2 separate regions of the Homo sapiens genome follow, and region 2 is linked to region 1. The links are contacts of gene promoters, found by promoter capture Hi-C in human tissues and cell types (Jung and others, 2019). All regions are on one chromosome and are shown on one strand. The core of a region is centred on a gene start or on the middle of the fragment in contact, and the rest is flanking DNA. Distances in the headings are between cores, read along the strand shown. Region 1 holds the start of NOP56 (NOP56 ribonucleoprotein). Region 2 overlaps FKBP1A (FKBP prolyl isomerase 1A).

Region 1 (3,246 bases), core at 539-3,038:
CAACCCCTCAGGGGAAAGAACACAGTTCCCACTAACAGGCTGAAGGACGATCAACTCTAACATCCCTCAGCTGACTACCCTGGTCCCACCGAGCACGCTGGGATGGCATACCTAGATCCCTCCCCATCAGGCATTGCTCAGAGACATGGAGACATCAGTGATTGCACTCAGGGGATTGACAGATTTGATTCGCAAGTCATCACTGCAAAGCCTGGCCCAGCCATGGGAACAACTGCATTCAGGTCTGATAGCACAAGTGGGCAATAAATAATAGCTTGTAACACACCCTCGAGTATTTCGTAGAATTTGCCTTCTGGAACCAAACCTTTTTTTCTCAGCCTGTGTTTACCCAACTGCCCTTTCCAATCGAACAGAAAGCAGAGAACCAGACACTTGATTGTGTTTAGGCAAAACCTCAGGCACAAGTAGGTGTTAAGCCGACCCCCTTTAAGAAACCCCCCTTTGTCGGCCGGGCACCGTCGCTCGCGCCTGCAACCTCAGCACCTTGGGAGGTCGAGGCGGGCGGATCACGAGGTCAGGAGATGGAGACTAGCCTGGCCAACATGGTGAAACCCCGTCTCTACCAAAAATACAAAATTAGCCGGGTGTGGTGGCTGGCACAGGCCTGTAATCCCAGTTACTCGGGAGGCTGAGGCAGGAGAATCGCCTGAACCAGGGAGGCAGAGGTTGCAGTGAGCCCAGATCTTGCCACTGCACTCCAGCCTGGGGGACAGACTCCATCTCAAAAAAAATAAAAATAAAAAATAGTTTGTCACTACAGTGCCCACAAGGAAACGTTAACACACATTCCACATCGTCTGCTTAAACAGTTTGGTCTAGCACAGTTCCCAGACCTTGAGCTCTGTGAAGACAATTATTTCAAATTACACATTGTATGGCTCAAATACTGCCTCACGCCTATCAGACTCAGAGCCAGCCAAGGACGGCAAATACTATCACAAGCTGCCCGAGAGGATACCGAAAGGAACCACATCTCTCTGTGACACTTGGCGGTGGCCGACTTACCTTCAGACACGGCGTTGGCATTTTCCAAGGCAACCTGGGATGAGGCAAAGGGACAAAAGGCCACCAGACGAACGATGCTGTGGAATTTGCCCAGGTTGAGCACAGACTCCTCCACCTGGGGGGAGAAAGAGGCTAAGTGGTTTCCTTCCCTCCCTCCTGCCTCTGCGGCGCAGTCAAGCAGCGGTTCTCAGCCTTGGAAGCTCTTAAAATATGCTGATACCTGGGCCCCACATCCCAGCTTCTGCTTTAATCGTTCGGGGGCGGCGTCCGGGAGGCTTATTTCTAATTGCTAGAGCGATTCTACCCATGGGTCAAGGTAAAGACCCCCGGATCTAGAGCTTTCCAGGCCCGTCCCCCCGCCCCGAACCGCTCGGCCGGCCACGTGGGAGCGCGCTGTGCATGCTGGGACCCGCGCGATGAGGGTCTGCGGGGCCGCCAAAGGAGCCCACGGATCTCACCCACCTGCGGCTGCAGCAGACTGATCTCCTCCACTTCCTTCAGCGCCAGCAGCGCGTAGCCGACCGCGTGCTCAAACAGCACGTGCAACAGCACCTGGAACGGGAGCCGGGGCGCGAGCGTCAACGCAACCTCAGCGTCTGCCGGAACCCGTTCCCAGGGCAGGCGCAGGCGCAGGCGCAGGCCCAGGCCCAGGCCCAGGCCCTGTCTGCGGCCCGAACGCAGGCCGAAACCCCCACCGTCGCGTCGCCCGCGCCCCGCAACCACTCCTCACCATGGCGCCAGCTCCCGGGTTCGGCTCGCAATGCGGCTAGCGCGCTCCGGCGCGCGGAACCAGGCTCCAGAGGCCACGCCCCCGCCCCCCCGACCAATCGGAGGCCGGGGACGACACCATCTCCGGCCTTTGGAGGGGCCGCCCAGGGTGGTATCGCCCGGAGCGCGGGCTGGGTGGTGCCGAGCGCGGGCGAGCGGGCCTTTTCCGGCCTCTGCAGCTGCGCGGGCGGGCGTGGTTGCCGGGGACGCGCGGCCCCCGGTCGGGCACTGCAGGCGGCGAAACGACTTGGGAAGGCCCTTTCGGGGTAATAGTCCGGTTCCTGATGTTCTTGTCATATGAGTTACGGGCAGCAGAGCTGGGTGAAGTCGGGGCGGGAGGTCCGCGTGGGGCGCGGCGTCCATCCCAGACAGAGACCGCTGCCTAGCCGGCTTCCCGCTTCGTCCGTGGCCTCGGGCCCCAGACCCTGCGCCCCACGTCCCCGGGACCCAGGCGTTCCCGTCCCCTACTCGGGGACGAGCCTCCCCGGCGCCGGGTGGGCGGTGCATCCTTTCCTCCCACCCGTAACGGGAGCGGTGCCTGGCGCGCTCTGGCGCAGACCCTGCTGGGAATGTAGCTCGCGCAGTTTTCTTCGTACTATTAATTTATTTCTTTTTTTTGTTTTTGGTTTTTTTTTTTTAAATGACTGTAGCAGGCAGTAACGTGCGAAAGAAAGACGCTCCAGCGTCTTCCTAGGCCAGTTTCTTGTTGCTGTGCTGCACGGGACCCAGCTCCTTTTGCTGGGCCACGTGTTGCTCCTCCGCTTGGGCGGCCCTGAATTCTGGGCGCTGGTGATCGCTGAGTGAATCGCAGCTGCTTCCCTGTCCTTGAGGGCGTCTTTTGGGCACTCAGGCGACTCTTTAGAAATGAGTTTTGCTTTAATAATTAATATTAACGTTATAAATCCAAAACCTAGTTATACTTAAGTAGCGTATCCCCTGGTATGTTTTAAAGAGTCATTCGAAGGGGATTTTTAAAAATAATGTATAGCTATAAACTGCATTTATACATTTAATTGTTATTTTGTTAAGCGATTGAGTTACTTGACAAAATCCAAGTACATAGTTCACTCACAAATCTAATATGTCAAACCTAAATGTGGTTGGTAAATCTTACTCTCATAATTTCAATATGGTTTACAGATGTGGTTGAATTCTGTTACACATGTCTACTTACGAGTCAGAATCGTTATTCCATTTAATATTTTAAAATGGAATTGCCAAGTTAATCCATACATTAGCATGTTAAATTATTTTAACCGTCGTGAATACATCAAAATAGACGATTCCAAAATGTAATGGAAAATACTAATGCTAATACTTCAATTTACTTCATTATTTCTGCCCTTAATCCTGAATCTTCCTGGAGTTACAGGTGCTTATCCACTAAACCAGGGGTTTTCAAGCAAGAAGTCAGAATGCATTAATGGACAGCATTTAAAAAAATAGGATTGG
Region 2 (3,246 bases), core at 275-2,774, 1.3 Mb after region 1:
GATGAGGAGACTGATAGTATGGCCATGGAGCACATCAGGTAGTAAGAAGCGCTGGAGAGATTAAAGCAGAGTGAGGGATGGGAAGGGAAGTTGGCTGCTTTTCGTGAGGGTGATTGGAAAAGGCCTCTGAAAAAAATGGCATTTTAACATTCACTCAAAGGACATTGGAGAGGGAGCTACAGGGCTGTCTAGAGTATCCAGGCAGAGGGAAGAGCTAGTGCAGGACCCTGAGGCTGGAGCCTGCTCGGTGCATTAGAGGAACAGTAAGAAGACCGGTGCGTTAGAGGAACAGGAAGTGGATTGTGTGAAAGGGTATGTGGCAGGAGATGAGGGGATGGTGGAGCCTCGTTGGTTTTTATAAAAACGTTGCCTTTTTCTAACTCAGGTGAGAGCCACTGGCTGGCTTGGCTTTTAATGCCCGCCCCCGCCCCCCCAACCCACGCTCCTTCTGGCTACTGTGTGGACAATGGGCTTTTGGGGGCAAAGGCAGAAACAGGACACTGGTTGTATCCCAGGTGTGTGGAGTGCCAGCTCAGGCAGTGGGCAGAAGTGGTGCCAGGTGGACAGTGATCCCCAAAGAGCATGTGGGTTCTTCGCTGTGTTCTGATCTTGACCCTGCCATACAACGGGCTATGAGAGCTTGAACAAATTGTCCCACAGTTCCCAGCTTCCACATGCTGTCTATAAAATGGGAGTAACGATGCCTGCTGTGAAGCAAATGCCTATCGAGACTACCCAGTTGTCTCCAAAGTGTTGCTCTTTTTTAAAACCACAGTTCCATTGAGCCTCACTCATCGCAGTTGTTATGTCTGTAATCTCAGTCTAGAAGAGTCCTTACGCTGTTTTTTTCTTAATAACTCTGATTTCTTCAAAGAGAGCAGGCTAGTTATAGAATACTCCACATCTGTCTTACTGTTTTCTCATGGTATTGTTTAACTTGTTCCCTGCCTTGATTTTCTGAACCGGATGTTTAATCTTTTAAGTGTCTGAATAGATTCCGTTTAAACATTTTAGTGTGAGTACTTCATCCTCAGCACACATGGGAAACATCACTAGTTGTGATGCTAAATTTGATCTTTTCTGTAAAGGTACATTTTTCCCTTTGCATTTAGCAGTGATCTGTGGAGTGCTTAGGTAGCCATAGATGGTCTCTTGCTCATCAGCCTTTCACCTAGTGGTGTTTACACCATCTGATCATTCTCCCCTGAAGAAGTCACTGGCATTCACAAAGTGTTGATTTTTAAAATTCCTTCATTCTTTCTAAATTTATTAGCTGTTATCCTTCTATAAGATAAGGTAAAGTAATTCTTTACCTTTAAATACCAAATTTTATTTTTATTTTTTGAGACAGTGTCTCTGTCACTCAGGCTGGAGTGCAGTGGCTTGATCATGGCTCACTGTAGCCTCGACCTCCCAGACTCCCATCCCGGCCTCCCATCCGGCCTTCTGAATAGTTGGGCATACAGGTGCATGCCACCTGTCCTAATTTTTGTATTTTTTGTAGAGACGGGTTTCGCCAGGTTTCCCAGGCTAGTCTCAAACTCCTGGCCTCAAGTGATCCACCCTCCTTAGCCTCCCAAAGTGCTGGTAGTACAGGCATGAGCCACCGTGCCCAGCCTTTAATTACCAATTTTTAAAATGAAAAATGAATGTTAACTGATGGGGTATTGCCATTCCCAGTGGGGGCAAGTGACTTTTTCCCCCTCTATTTGCTTTGACTGTACTGTGGGCTGAAATTTTTTGTCAGGGCCTTAAGATCAATGATACCCATTATTCTTTTTGATGCTAATATCATCCTAAATTTGGCCAGTAGGAGCCCTTTAAGCTGGCTCCAGTACCTTTTTGACAGGCTCCCACCATTCCTTCATCCATTTCTCGGTTTCACTACTCTGGTCCAATTATCAGCCATCTTTCAAAGAGCTCTGGTTCCTTTCAGTGGGGTCCATGACCTTTTTTTTTCTTGGTAACAGCTTTATTGAATATAATTTACATACCATAAATTCACCTATTTACTCATAGATGTTTTAACTAGAACATTTTTAGGCTTAAACTGATTTTTATGAATTACTGAGGGGTTTATTGTATCCATAAACTGGAAATCATTTGTCTGCCTTGGAATTTTCTCTAAAAATATTGTCACCTGCTGTTTCCCATGGAAGAAGCCAAGGTTATGAATAACTTAATCACATAGCATTCAGTTCTCCCTTTGGTGCTCATGGTGACATTTGTTTATTTTTACTTCTATTTTTTCTTCTGTTTTTTTGTTTTCTTTTCCTGCTAAAAAGCTTAACCAAGTCTCTGCATTCCCTCCCCTGGACCCCTTTGATTTTGACCAGGTGTATTCTAGCAGTGCAGAAAGTCGGGGAGGTAGAAATAACCAGTTCTTAGATGCTACTGTCTCTTTCTGTTACATTTGCTCTTCCTCTCCCAGGAGCTCAAGCCACCTTGGCCTGCATTCATTCCTCGAATGCTCCAAGCCTTTTCCCACATGGAGGTCTCTGCCCCTTTGCTTAGGTGCCACCACACTGCCCCCACTCCCCACTGCATGACAGGCTCTTTTCTTTATAGCACAGCTTAAGTAACACTTTGGATGCATACATGCATGCTTCTAATTCTGCAACAATGCACCCATCTATTTTCTTAGCCCCCATCATAGTCAGGATCCGTGTAGTTAAACATCTGCTCTTTCCCCAACCGACTGAAGGCTCCAGGAGGCCAGACCCACACTAGTGTTGTTCTCCAAGGTCTCCCCATCAGTCTTGGCATAGAGTAGCTATTCAGTGACTGTTTGAATGAGTGGCCAGTTAGGACCTGGCATTCCCTCGGTCACTCAGTGAATATATAAGGAGCTGGGCAAAGCCTCAATGTTGCCCTCAAGAAGCTTACCCTGTAGGGAGTGGTCAGTTACAATGAAAGTACCTCAGGCAACCTACACCTATAGGCTAGAACTTCTTGGAGGAAGTGCCATTTGGTCTTGGGTGTGTATGGTGCAGTCAGGCAGGAGGAAAGCGTCTTCCAGGTATATACACAGGCCAGGAGGAGAAAAGGGTACCTTTGATATTTCTGTAAGTACTTGATGAATGTCTGCTATGTACAAGACACTGTCCTGGCTACCAAGAATTTAGGAGTGAAGAAGACACAGTTCCTGCCTTCATCTCACACTGTAGTGGAAAAGACATAATAAATATGATTAATAAGCAAGACTGTTGTGTATAAGCTAGTAAGTGTTAAGGAGGGAATAGGAAA

What was found. Contacts are between HindIII fragments. The study calls those that stand out against the background at their distance.
Region 2: a contact is called between a fragment that was not itself captured here and the fragment with the promoter of NOP56 in region 1, in 1 of the 25 tissues and cell types used here (dorsolateral prefrontal cortex).

What each region holds. Positions count from the first base shown.
Region 1 is chr20:2,651,174-2,654,419 of GRCh38, reverse strand. NOP56 (NOP56 ribonucleoprotein) reads right to left here and starts at 1,788. Exons shown (of 12, transcript NM_006392.4): 1 at 1,757-1,788; 2 at 1,489-1,578; 3 at 1,027-1,141; 4 at 1-6. The coding sequence starts at 1,759. MIR1292 (microRNA 1292) reads right to left here and starts at 1,643; the gene lies at 1,578-1,643. It overlaps LOC105372505 (a long non-coding RNA gene), which reads left to right and starts at 1,956. Exons shown (of 5, transcript XR_007067502.1): 1 at 1,956-2,060. It overlaps SNORD110 (small nucleolar RNA, C/D box 110), which reads right to left and starts at 208; the gene lies at 134-208. RefSeq lists an enhancer at 1,075-1,164 and a silencer at 1,665-2,304. The HindIII fragment of the contact is 12,812 bases long and covers 1-3,246 here.
Region 2 is chr20:1,385,936-1,389,181 of GRCh38, reverse strand. All of the region lies in intron 2 of FKBP1A (FKBP prolyl isomerase 1A), which reads left to right. The region is part of intron 2 of FKBP1A-SDCBP2 (FKBP1A-SDCBP2 readthrough (NMD candidate)); the gene reads left to right. Among named protein-coding and RNA genes, the nearest start is that of MIR6869, 5.4 kb to the left of the region's middle. The HindIII fragment of the contact is 7,512 bases long and covers 1-3,246 here.